Regions from separate parts of the Homo sapiens genome. Here region 2 is linked to region 1. The links are contacts of gene promoters, found by promoter capture Hi-C in human tissues and cell types (Jung and others, 2019). All regions are on one chromosome and are shown on one strand. The core of a region is centred on a gene start or on the middle of the fragment in contact, and the rest is flanking DNA. Distances in the headings are between cores, read along the strand shown. Region 1 holds the start of CRB2 (crumbs cell polarity complex component 2). Region 2 overlaps LOC105376265 (a long non-coding RNA gene).

Evidence for each region. The method cuts DNA at HindIII sites, captures the fragments that hold promoters and counts their contacts. A contact is called where the count stands out against the background at its distance.
Region 2: a contact is called between a fragment that was not itself captured here and the fragment with the promoter of CRB2 in region 1, in 3 of the 25 tissues and cell types used here (adrenal gland, aorta and liver).

What each region holds. Positions count from the first base shown.
Region 1 is chr9:123,353,941-123,359,640 of GRCh38, forward strand. CRB2 (crumbs cell polarity complex component 2) reads left to right here and starts at 2,257. Exons shown (of 13, transcript NM_173689.7): 1 at 2,257-2,414. The coding sequence starts at 2,321. RefSeq lists silencers at 78-187, 208-257 and enhancers at 220-719, 388-557, 3,938-4,605. The HindIII fragment of the contact is 16,000 bases long and covers 1-4,492 here.
Region 2 is chr9:123,299,756-123,305,455 of GRCh38, forward strand. It overlaps LOC105376265 (a long non-coding RNA gene), which reads right to left. Exons shown (of 4, transcript XR_930331.3): 3 at 5,459-5,556; 4 at 5,070-5,153. Among named protein-coding and RNA genes, the nearest start is that of STRBP, 34 kb to the left of the region's middle. RefSeq lists an enhancer at 5,201-5,250. The HindIII fragment of the contact is 3,759 bases long and covers 1,390-5,148 here.

The sequences.
Region 1 (5,700 bases), core at 1,007-3,506:
GGGTGGGGGGGGGGTAAACTGAGGTTATGTCGATTCCCTTCCCAGGTGGGGAGGACAGGGGAAGTGGATGCACCTGGGGGACCATCTCAGAGGAGCTGGCCCACTCTTACTGCCTTCTCCAGATCCGGACCAGGGAGCGGTCAAGATGGTGTGCCCTTGTCTGACCTCCGTCCTGCCTGCTGTCCAGCGACTCCCTGGCTTCCTCCCCGTCACGTGGGACTCCTGTACCCGGTGCTGTCGGGGGAGCCCCCCTCCATACCCTCCAGACCTCACAAGACACTTCCAGGTCTGGCCACAAGGTGGAGTGTGGCGGCTGCAGGACAGTGCTGGGGGCCGGGCTGCAGAGGAGACTGGACCTGCGCCGGGTGACCTCCCCGCTCTGTGAAAGTGTGGGAGTTTGTGTCTGTGCATCCAGAGAACCAGAGGGTGGTGGTTGACTTGCCGTGCTCCCCCCAGCCCCCCATTGGGATTGCCTGGGTCTCTGGGGGATCACTGAGAAGCTGGATAAAGAGAGCTGGCACTGTCGCCTTGGCTCACTAACGCCACCATTTTACAGGTGAGGAGACTGAGGCCCAGAGAAGGAAGTCACGTGCTGAGGTCACCGGCTAATCAGTGGCTGAGCTGGGCTCGAACCCAGATCTCTTACGCTGTGAGGCCTCTGCTTTTCCTGTGGCATGGAGAGGGGCTTCTCCCACCTGGGGAGAGGGATCCTGTTGTATTGGAGAGGCAGGGGATTAAAGATGGACTGAGAGAGGTTAGTGTCCCAGAAACCAAGGGGCAATCCCTGCCCTGGAGAGAACAGGCCTCAAGGGCAGGGATGGGGCAGGGGCAGTGGATAAGGAGTCTACCCAGGCCTTTTTGGGTTCCCTCCTTTGGTCCCTGGGGACCCAGGGCTGTGGCACTTGCCCCGGGCTAGAGGGTCGGCCAGGGCCTGTGTGGTGCCCACTGCTCCCTCCCCTGCACTGCAGGGGACCCTTGCCCATCCCTCTAGCTCATCTGGACCTCCCTCAATGGCTCCTGCTGTCTTTCCAGGCTGTGTCCTCCCGTGTCAGGGACACATCCCAGAGCCCAGGGCCTGCGTGGGCTGTATCCACGGTTACTGAATAGGGACAAACAGGCATGTATTGGCAGGGGCCGGTGGCTCATTTCAGGAAAGTCCCTTCAGCAAGAGGATTCTCTCCCCACTGGGGCTGAGGGTGGTAGAAGAAAGGAATGTTGTTCTATGTTGTAGTGTCTCTGAGATGACCTGGCTTCCTGAACCAGGTCCCCCTGAAGAGCTCCTCCTGTCCACCCCAACAAGAGGCCAGCTGGAGAGCAAGCAAACATCGAGTGCAGCAGGAGACTATAAGGTTAGACAACAAGAAGGACTTCCTGGCAGGGGAGAGCAATGCTTGCTTGGTTAGAGCTGCCTTTCAGTAGAATGGGCTGCTTTGGATTGCAGTGAGGTCGCTGGAGTTGCAAACAGCAGAGCCAGAGATCAAGGTCAAGTGGAAGAAAGCTGGGAAAGGTTCAGTTTGGCTGGTGAAGGGTGGAGAGGGTAAAGGGAGGCAGGGACCACCGTGGTGCAGGGGTGAGGTGCCCTGCAGGGAGCTGATCCTGAGGCCGATGGTGGGAGGAGCTGTGTGTGGTCGGGTGGGACGGGGTGGGGACAGCAGGAGACACTGAGAAGGTGGCATGGCCAGGAGCTAGGGGCTGACCGAGTGTGGGGAGGGGGGAGTGGGGAGGGGGCGTTGGGCTGCCCGATGGGAGGTGCCTTGGCTCCGATGGGAGCACTGGGGAGCAGCAGGTGGGGGGACGAGCTGGGTGGGAGGGGCTGCAGCTTCCCAGCAGAGACAGGGTCTGGGAGGCGACTGGACTCGAAGGCCTGGGCTTGGGAGAGAGGCCCGGGCTGGAGAGGTGGGGAGGGGGATCCAGGAGAGGGGATAACTAAGGACTTGGGAGTAGCTGGCATCACCTGGTGAGACGAGAGTCCTGAACAGCCCCCTCTCCAAGGACAGAAATTTCTCCAAGGAGGCTGACCTGAGAGGTGGGAGGAGAGTGGGGCAGAGGGTCAGGAGGGAGAAACCAGTGGGTGCCAAGACCAGGTCAGCCCCACAGGCTAGGGGGCTTGAGGACTTGGGGCTGATGTCTAGGGACGTCCACGAGGTGGAGCAGCCCAGGAGGCCTGGGTGGGAGGAGGAGGCGGTGGCGGGGAGGGGAGGGAGGGGCTGGGCCTCTGTCCACAGCATTAGTGCTGGTTGGAGGGACGAGGGGGGTGCGGAGCCAGCCAGGCCGCCCTCCCGTTCTCACAGCAGCCGAGCAGAGCGCAGAGCGGGCTGCCATGGCGCTGGCCAGGCCTGGGACCCCGGACCCCCAGGCCCTGGCCTCTGTCCTGCTACTGCTGCTCTGGGCCCCTGCCCTTTCCCTCCTGGCTGGTGAGTTGGGGCCCATGTCTGGAGGGGCCTGGGAGAGGGTCTGTCCCCCAAGACAGATACCCCAAGCCTTGGCTGCTGGGGTGGTGGGTGGGCTGGTCCGCGTGGGTGCAGGCCTGAGCTGTGGGGTGCACAGGAGTGCGCGGCTGTGGCCCCCAGACTCTGTGGGGCTCCACGGAGGTGAGTGTGTTCTGAGGCTCGGGGCTGTTTCATGTTGAGGGGGGTTGTAAGTTTCGGGGTTGGGGGATCGGGGGCTGGGCATGATTTGGGGGAGCTGATGCGGGTGAGGGATGGGGTGCGTGTTTTGGGAGGTGCTGTGTTGCATCCTGTAAAGGGCTGGGGGACTTCTGGGTTTCTAGGGGCTGAGTTTGGGGAGTTGCAGGTGGCATAAGCCTCACCCCAGAGCTTGTTCTGTGTCGCATGCTGGGTTGTGGGGCACAGGTTGTGGGTGTGTTAGAGTTGGGAGGTGGATGAGCTGTCTGGGGTGAGCCGTGAGTTGTGTCCGAGGAGTTGGGTGTGGTGAGCTGTGTCCTAGCACACGCTGTGGGGTGTAGGTTGTCCAGGGTTGAACTAGGTCTTTGCTCTCAACATGAGGGGTGTGGGATGTGCACAGCCGACCCCAACTCGGGACTGAGTGGAGAAGCGTGAGGGAGACTCAGGGAGCTGGGTGCCTGCCCGCACCCCTCCATTTGTGCGGTAGCCCTGCCTGTGCTGAGGGCTGCTGGGGATGCTCTGGGTCCCTGTGGGGTGGCTGGGGATTTGGGAACATGTGTGTGTCCCCTGCTGCCCCCTCCCCAGCATTCCAAGGCCAATCTGAAAGGGCTCCCTGAAGCCAGACCACATTTGCCAAGCCCTTTTTGCTTTTGTCCAAGCTCTCGGAGCCTGGAATTCCTCCTGGGGGGTCCAAGGGAACGCTTGGTGTTAGTTACTATAGTTACAGGGGCCGGGCCTGGGAAGTCCCCTGCCCCCACCACCACAGGCTGGGGAGGGAGCCAAGGAGGGCCTGGGCTCTCCTGAGGCTGGGGGAGCCCTCCCTGCCCCAGAGCTCCACAGGCTGTAGGGTGTGGGGGCCAAGTGTCTCCCAGTCCCACCTGGGGACCCTCATGTTTCCCGCACTCACAAAGCTTTCATTTCCTATCCTCTCTATGGGGCCCTAGGGAGGATGAGGACCCCATTTTGCAGTGAAGGAAACCAAGGCTCAGAGAGGGACGGGGACTTATGAGCTGGGCTCTGCTGGCAGGCGACTTGGGCTCCATAGAGGGGTGGGGCATGGTGGCGGGGGGCGGGGTGGCTGCTCCTCTCTGTTCTCTGCATACAAAGCACGTGAGATCCCGGTCTGTGGATCGGTGCTCTGTCCCCTGCCCTGTGATGCTCACACACCCACACTCCGCACACCTGTGTGGCATGCCCAAGGGCACACAGCACCACAGGGACAGGTGCTACAGACACATGTGGATCTACCAGCACATGCACCTACCTACACACATGGCATGTGCCTGCACACCAATGTGCACACCCCAACACGCACATGTGGACATGTGTGCATTCACACTCAGTGTGCACTCACAGGGGACCTGGAGGCACAGAGTGGATGGAGGCTGTGGGGGGTCTGGACACTGGTGTGTACACTCAACCCATCAGGCCTGCTGGGTTGCCCAGGGGCAGCCTTTCCTCTGCCATTTCTGTGCTGGGAGCGCCATCCCTGGGGATCCCTAAAAGTTGGTGGGGTACACTGCAGGCATGACCATTTCTGCATGCTGGTACCCTAGACTGCCTGCCGGGAGGGGAGGGATTGGGGATTTTGTCACTTGAAAACCAATTTCCATCCTGGAGGGGATGGGGGCTTCTGGAGGCCATGGGCCCCTGGCTTTTCTCCCCACCCCTGCCAGGCCCTGAGCTGGGCCTCTCCATCCTGGGCCCAATTTGCCACAAAGGCCCGGCTGGTTGCCATGGAGAGGACCAAGCATCTTGGAGTACAATGGGGCACGTTGGGCTCTCATATCCACCCTCCCTTCCCCAAACACCCAGGGAGCCCAGCAGACAAAGGGGCAGTGAGTCCAGGCCCCAAGTCCGGCCCCTCCTCCAGCCAGAAGGGGGTGGGGGCCTGCAGGACAGAAGCAGAGATGGAGCAGAAAGCCACACACATTCAACCCAATGTCAGGATCCTTTGGACAGTGGGTGTCTGCCTCAAGTAAAGAATTGTTAATGAGTAAGATCAGCCACTCCATGGCAGGCACTGTGCTATTATTAACGAGGTCTAATTTAATTCTCCCAACAGCCTATGAAGTCAGCTCTGATACCCCTAGTTTACAGAGGAGGTAAACGAGGCCCAGAGATGGCCAGTCCCAGAGCCAGGAAGCCCCAGAGCCAGTGCTGGGATTTCACAGTACACTGTGCTACTTGCCTAGGCAAAGTCACGTCTCTTCTCTGTCTCTACAAAACGAGGACAGACTGGCTTACTCCGAGCGCTGGTATAAGGATTGGAAGAGAATGCAGTGAGCGGTTCCCCACCCCAGGTTTTGGCATGGAACCCCCAATTTCAAGGGAAATTTTAGATGGAAGCCCATGAATAGTTAATAGTAAAATTGTTAAAAGTGGCCTGTTTGGGTGGCAGGTGGGGAACCCCACCTGCTCTGTCTCCCCCTCACTTCAGGAGGTAACTCCCTGGAACTGTGCTCTGAGCCCAAACTCTCAAGGGTTGGTCAGTGCCAGGCACAGGGTAGGTGCTCCGTCCCTGACAGCTATTGTTGCAATTACTGTTATCAAAATTATGTCTTTTAACCTCAGAAGGTAAACATTTTTGAAAAAGAGTATGCCAAATTATTCTGCCCAAAAGAGAATTTCACCCTTTCCTGATGACTGAGTGAGTGTCTGCAAGCCTCCATGGTTATTCAGCCCTACCCTTGTAGGGTAGAGCCTTGGGGCCCAGGGATATTAGATGAACAATTTCTTCCCCTATGCTAGAAGTTCCCACACCTTATGAGATCTTAGGTCGCTTCTTAGAAATATTCTGTCTCTTGATTTGTTGGGACAGGAAGCTTCCCCAGTAAATGCTTCTTTTTTTGTTTGTGGTTTTTCGTTTTTGTTTTGTTTTTTTTTTTTTTTTTTTTTTTTTAAGAAAGGGTCTCACCCTGTTGCCCTGGCTGCAGTGCAGTGGCAAAATCATAGCCCACTGTAGCCTCGACACCCTGGGCTCAAGCCATCCTCCCACCTCAGCCTCCCAAGCAGCTGGGACTACAGGGACCCACCCCATGCTTGGCTTATTTCGTTTTGTTTTCATAGAGCCAGC
Region 2 (5,700 bases), core at 2,019-4,518, 53 kb before region 1:
CCAAAGCGGCTGCTCAGTCCCTGTTTCTTTAAATAGATCTGGCTGCTTACAAAGCAGGTATTGGAGTGCCTAAAAGCCCAGCGGCCTTCAGAAGCCCCTGCCTCTGGCATTCGCTGGAGACTTTCCCACTCAACTGGTGTCACTCTGTTCTTCATGCTCAGCTTACAGAAGCCTTGGCTCGGTCTCAATGCTTCCCGCACCCTGTGGCTCCCCTTGCCCCGGCCACTGGTCTACATGTGCTTTGGAGTTCACCTTCCGGTTGCATTGATGCTCCAGATAATAATCAAAGCCATCTCCCCCAGGCCCTCAAACCCTGCGCCACTCACCCACACAAAGACAGGGGATGATAAAAACCATAGTTCTTGTGTGCTAAGCACCTGCTATATGCTTGGCACTTTACATGCCTATCTCCTTTACTCTGTAAAAATAACAACCGTAGCTATCATTGAGTCCTTTTTCTGTGCCAGCTACTGTACTCTTTATATGCATCTGCATTTCCCAGAGTATGAAAGAGAGGCTCAGAGGAGTAAAGTGAGTTGTCCAAGGTCACAGAGCTAGTAAGGAAGTGGTGGTGCCTCGTTTCAAACCAACCCTTGTCTGACTGCCAGCCTCATGCCCCTAATCCCTACCCTGTGCTGCTCTTATAACCACCCTGTGGGATAGGCAGGAAAGATGAGAAAACTGGGTTTCAGCAAGGTTAAATCTCAGTTCAGGGTCATTTTAACACAGCGTCAGAGGGACCTGAGAGCTTGCAGTGAGAAGATGCTGGTCTGGGTAAGGAACTGGGTGAATAGGAAGGTCACAGAAGGTGAGAGTCTGGTGTGGGTGAGGAATGGGGCTAGGTCCTCCACCAGGGAGGCAGGGATCCAAGGCTGGGCTCTAATCCTGGCAGGAGAAGTGCAGGCTGGGAAGGCAGCTTCCCAGGGCTCCCCTCCACCCCGGAAACACTACCCACCCATCTGGGACAGCATAGCCATTTCTCGATCATATCTGCCATTGTCCTTTGTCCCGGGGCTCAGGGACCATGTGGGGTTGTGTGTGCTGACAGAGGTGGAGGAGGGGGACTCAGGGCCTCTGGTGTCTGGGAGGCTCAGATAGGCCAGGGTGTTCTCTGTTCACCTGCTGGACACTGGGCTGCTATGCTCAGGGGCAATGGCTCATACCACATCTCCTCTATCTGGAGTGTAATAAAAAGATCCAGGTGCCTAAGGCAGCAAGGTGAATCTGGGCCCCAAAGTTCTCGGCTCAAGTCCTGGTCTACCACTGACTTGCCTGGGACTTCAGGTACATCACTTTCTGTCTTGGCATTGTAACAGCTCCTGTTGGGGCTGTGGAGCACTGGTGTGTGGGTAAGTGTTGTGAGAAGTAGAGTCAAGAGTAGCTGGTGTCAGCTGCCACGGTAGCTGCGATCCTAGCACTTTGGGAGGCCAAGGCAGGTGAATCTCTTGAACTCAGAAGTTCAAGACCAGCTGGAACAACATGGCAAAACCCTGTCTCTACAGAAAATACCAAAAATTAGCCAGGCATGTTGGTGTGCGCCTATAGTCCCAGCCACTCTGGAGACTGAGGCTGGAGGATTGCTTGAACCCAAGAAGTTGAGGCTGCAGTAAGCTGTGATTGTGCCACTGCACACTCCAGCCTGGGTAACAGAGTGAGACCCTGTCAAAAAAAAAAAAAAAAAAAAAAAAAAAAAAAAAAAAAAAAAGCAGGTATGTGACTTTGGAAAACAGTCTGGCAGTTCATCTAAAAGTTAAACATAGCATCCCTGTATGGCCCAGCGGATGCACTCCTAGGTATACACCCAACAGAAATGAAAACACATGTTCACACAAAAACTTTTACACGACTGTTCATAGCAGCGTTATCCACAGTAGTCAAAAAGTGGAAATAACCCAAAGCCACCAACCAATGAACGGATACCAAAATGCAGTATTTCCACATAATAGAATATTATTCAGCCATAAAAAAGAATGAAGTACTGATGAGTGTTATGACATGGAAGAATCTTGAAAACAGAAGCTAGGCACGAAAGGTCACATACTGTATGATTCCATTTTTATGATTGGCCAGAATAGGCCAATCCACAGAGACAGAAAGTAGGAGCAGGGGAAATTGGGGGAAGGGACAGCTAATGGGTACAAGGTTTCTTTTGGGGTATTGAAAATGATCTGGAAATAGTGATGATGGGTGCACAACCTTATGAATAGAATAAAAACCACTGAATTGTACACTTTAAGGAAGAATTTAAATGATAGGAGAATGGTTTGTTTTTGTTTTTGAGACAAAGTCTTGCTCTGTCACCCGGGCTGTCGTGCAGTGGTGCGATCTCAGCTCACTGCAACTTCCGCCTCCCGGGTTCAAGCGATTCTCCTGCCTTAGTTTCCTGCGTAGCTGGGACTACAGGCACCCACCAACACGCCCGGCTAATTTTTGTATTTTAGTAGAGACAGGGTTTCACCATGTTGGCCAGGCTGATCTTGAACTCCTGACCTCAAGCGATCTGCCCGCCTCCGCCTCCAAAGTGCTGGGAGAATGTTTTTAAAAGAGAGAATAGCGAGCATTTCCTTCTCCAGATTCCATGCTAAGCACTTCCCATGTGCCTTGTGTAATCCCCACATCAAACCTAGAAGAGAAGAACCCTCATTATGCTTATTTCATAGGTGAGGAAACTGAGGCAGGGAGCGGTTCAATAGCTTCCCCAAGGTGGCACAGCTCTGGTGCCACATGCAAATGCAAGGTCAGTGTGGACGGCATTGCACCTCCACTGAGACCACAGGGTACTTTGTACAAGCTTTTCCTGTGGACAGTCTCCTTGTTCATCTTCCCTATCAGCCCATGCGGGCCTGGAGAGCAGACACCTTATTCAGCGACTCCCCACAACACAGCTCAAGGCCTGGCTCATAGACGTCTGTTGAATGGAAGGAGCACTGCACTATCTTTGCCCTCTCGGCTGGTTTGCAGAGAAATCGACTTTTCACAAAAGCACAGCATCCGCTGTGAAATCTTCAGGCTGCCAGAGGCTGCTTCACGCTCACCCTGAGGTTGCTGAGATGAGAGGCAAGAACCACCTCAAGTCGAGACAAAATGCATTTGTGGTTTTGAAGGAAAGTCGTTAGAAGACAAAGTCTGTCTTCCAAGGCCAAGGTTGCTCCAATTCCGTTTACTTAAAGTAGAAAGAAGACAATCCCTGCCCCGATGGGTCTGCGCTGGCTTGTAGGAAGGAGAGATTTTGCTGAGTATCCAACACTAACCGCAGGAGAGAGCAGAGGGGAGACAGTGGGAGCCAAAGCAAACATTCTGAAGTCAGAGATAATGGGAGAAGGTAAGAGGAAGAATAGGCTTGGAGGCCAAGCAGGAAGCAGGTCTGAAAGGAAGGGTGGGAAGGCAGGAAGCGTCCCGAGCACTTATGAGAAGATGGCCCTCCAGAGTCTGAGGGGGAGGTCTTGGAGGAACCTGGGCTGGCTGAGCTGGAGTCACAGCTGGCCTGGCCAAGACTCCTCCAACAGTCTGCTCCTGGGCCTCCCTGACTTGGGCCTCTCCCTGTCCTGTCATCCTCCATTTGAACCCAAAGTGTCCTTTCAACACACAGATTGTTCCTGTCCCAAAACCCTTCCACGGCTCCCCACTGAGAAGCATTCAGACGAGGCACTCCAGGCCTCAGGGTCCAAATGAAGTCGCAGGCCAGGTGCGGTGGCTCATGCCTGTAATCCCAGCACTTTGGGAGGCCAAGGCAGGAGAATTACTTGAGTCCAGGAGTTTGAGACCAGCCTGGCCAATATGGTGAAACCCCATCTCTACTAAAAATACAAAAATTAGCCTGGCGTGGTGGCGCACACCTATAATCCCAGCTACTCAGGAGGCTGAGGCACGAGAATCACTTGAACCCGGGAGGCAGAGGTTGCAGTGGGCCGAGATCATGCCATTGCACTCCAGCCAGGGTGACAGAGCGAGACCCTCCCTTTGTCCTTTCAGCTTCCCTTCCCCACTTCTCTCTGTGGCAATCCCCTAGGATCTCATGCACCAACCTTCTTATTCTTCCCCAAGTGAACTCCGCCTTTCTTGCTTTTTCCGTATTTTCTCTTTTTCCCAGATATGTCTCATCTCCTCCAATAGCCCCTTGTGGGACTATTTTCTCCACTTCTTTGAATCTCCCTCAATGTCTAATCTGGGGCTGGCCATGGACGCATGCTCAGTAACTACCAGAAAAACGAATCCAGTAGCCAGAAGGATGGAACACAGAAGGATTCTGGGCAACTGACCTGCCTAGTTCACGCTTATAGAGCTTGACGTGTTAGGCCGGGTTCACAGGTTTGCCAGGAAACAGACCCTGGGGAAAGGGTGGGGTCTAAACGGCATATCTGGGAGGTGGACGCTAACACAGAGTACGTTTGAGGGTAGCCACCTTTCTGAGCACCTCCGGCTCCATCCTGCTGAGGTCCTCTAGGAAATGGGAGAAAGCACAACTTCTAGTTGTCCCACCTGGAAAGTAAAGGATGCTGAAGTATTTACCTCCCGTCTCCCACTCACCTGGCTCAGGGCAGTTCCTGGGGTGTTTACACCTGTGGCCTGCTCCTGGCTCAGGCTGAAGGACACCTGTGGTGTGAGAGTCACAGATGCTTGCAGCAGGACCCCATAGGCAGGCTCCAGATGAGTGGGAGGGGATCAGACAGGCCCCCACTCTCCCAGCCTCTGTGCCTTTGCTGTGCTATTCCATCCCTGAACTGCCCTCTTCCAGGTCTCTTCTCCACTAGCAGTGAGCTCCTACACCTCCTTCGAGGCCCAGCTAAACGTTCTCCCTCTGGGAGGCTTCGCCTGACCACCCCAGAAGAGTTAGGGCCTCTCTCCCATGGACTCCCACCAGCACCCTTCCTCTCTCTTTTTAAATTTTATTTTATCATCATTATTATTTTTTTTGAGACGGGGTCTCATTCTGTTGTCAGGCTGGAGTGCAGTGGCACGATCTTGGCTCACTGCAGCCTTGACTTCCTGGGCTCAAGCGATCCTCCCACTTCACCCTTCTTCTCTTATCACTTTGTGCAGTGGCTCCCACAACAGCCACCCGCTGTTATCACCTTGCAACTGTGGTCTTGTCTGCCTGCCTCCCGGACTGCGAACTCTGCAAGGGTGAGGTCTCTGTCTGATTCATTGTGCCCCTAGCAGCAGCAGAGAGAAGGTGTCCTGTGAGTGACTGCATGAGAACAGCTGAATGAATAAGCAACAATAATAACTAACTATGTGCCCGACTCTGAGCTAACTTCCTTACACGTGACGCTTGTTTAATCTACCCAGACACTTACAAGGTAGGTGCTACTGTCACTGTTGACCTACAGATGAGGCAGCAGAAGCACAGAGGGCAAAAGGAACTTGCCCCAGGGCCCCCGCCCCACCAAAAAAACAAGAAGCTGAGTGAGGAATGATGGAGAGGCCCCTCCCAGTCCCTTGGGAGAGCTGTACTCACCCCCTGCAAGTCGAGGATAGGAGACTATTAGCTCCGCCCATTGGCTCACGATGGCTCTTCAAAGCTGCTTTGGGCTAGGAAAGGATCTGCTGAGTCTGCTGGGAGGATGTAGAGAAAGGAAGATAAATGGGGCAGCAGAGAGGGAGGGTCCTGGAGCCTGCCCACCTGTGAGCAGTGAGTTTGAGGAGCTGGGTGGGGGGTGCTGTAGGAGCAGCCGGGGGTGAAGTGCTGGATGAGGGTTG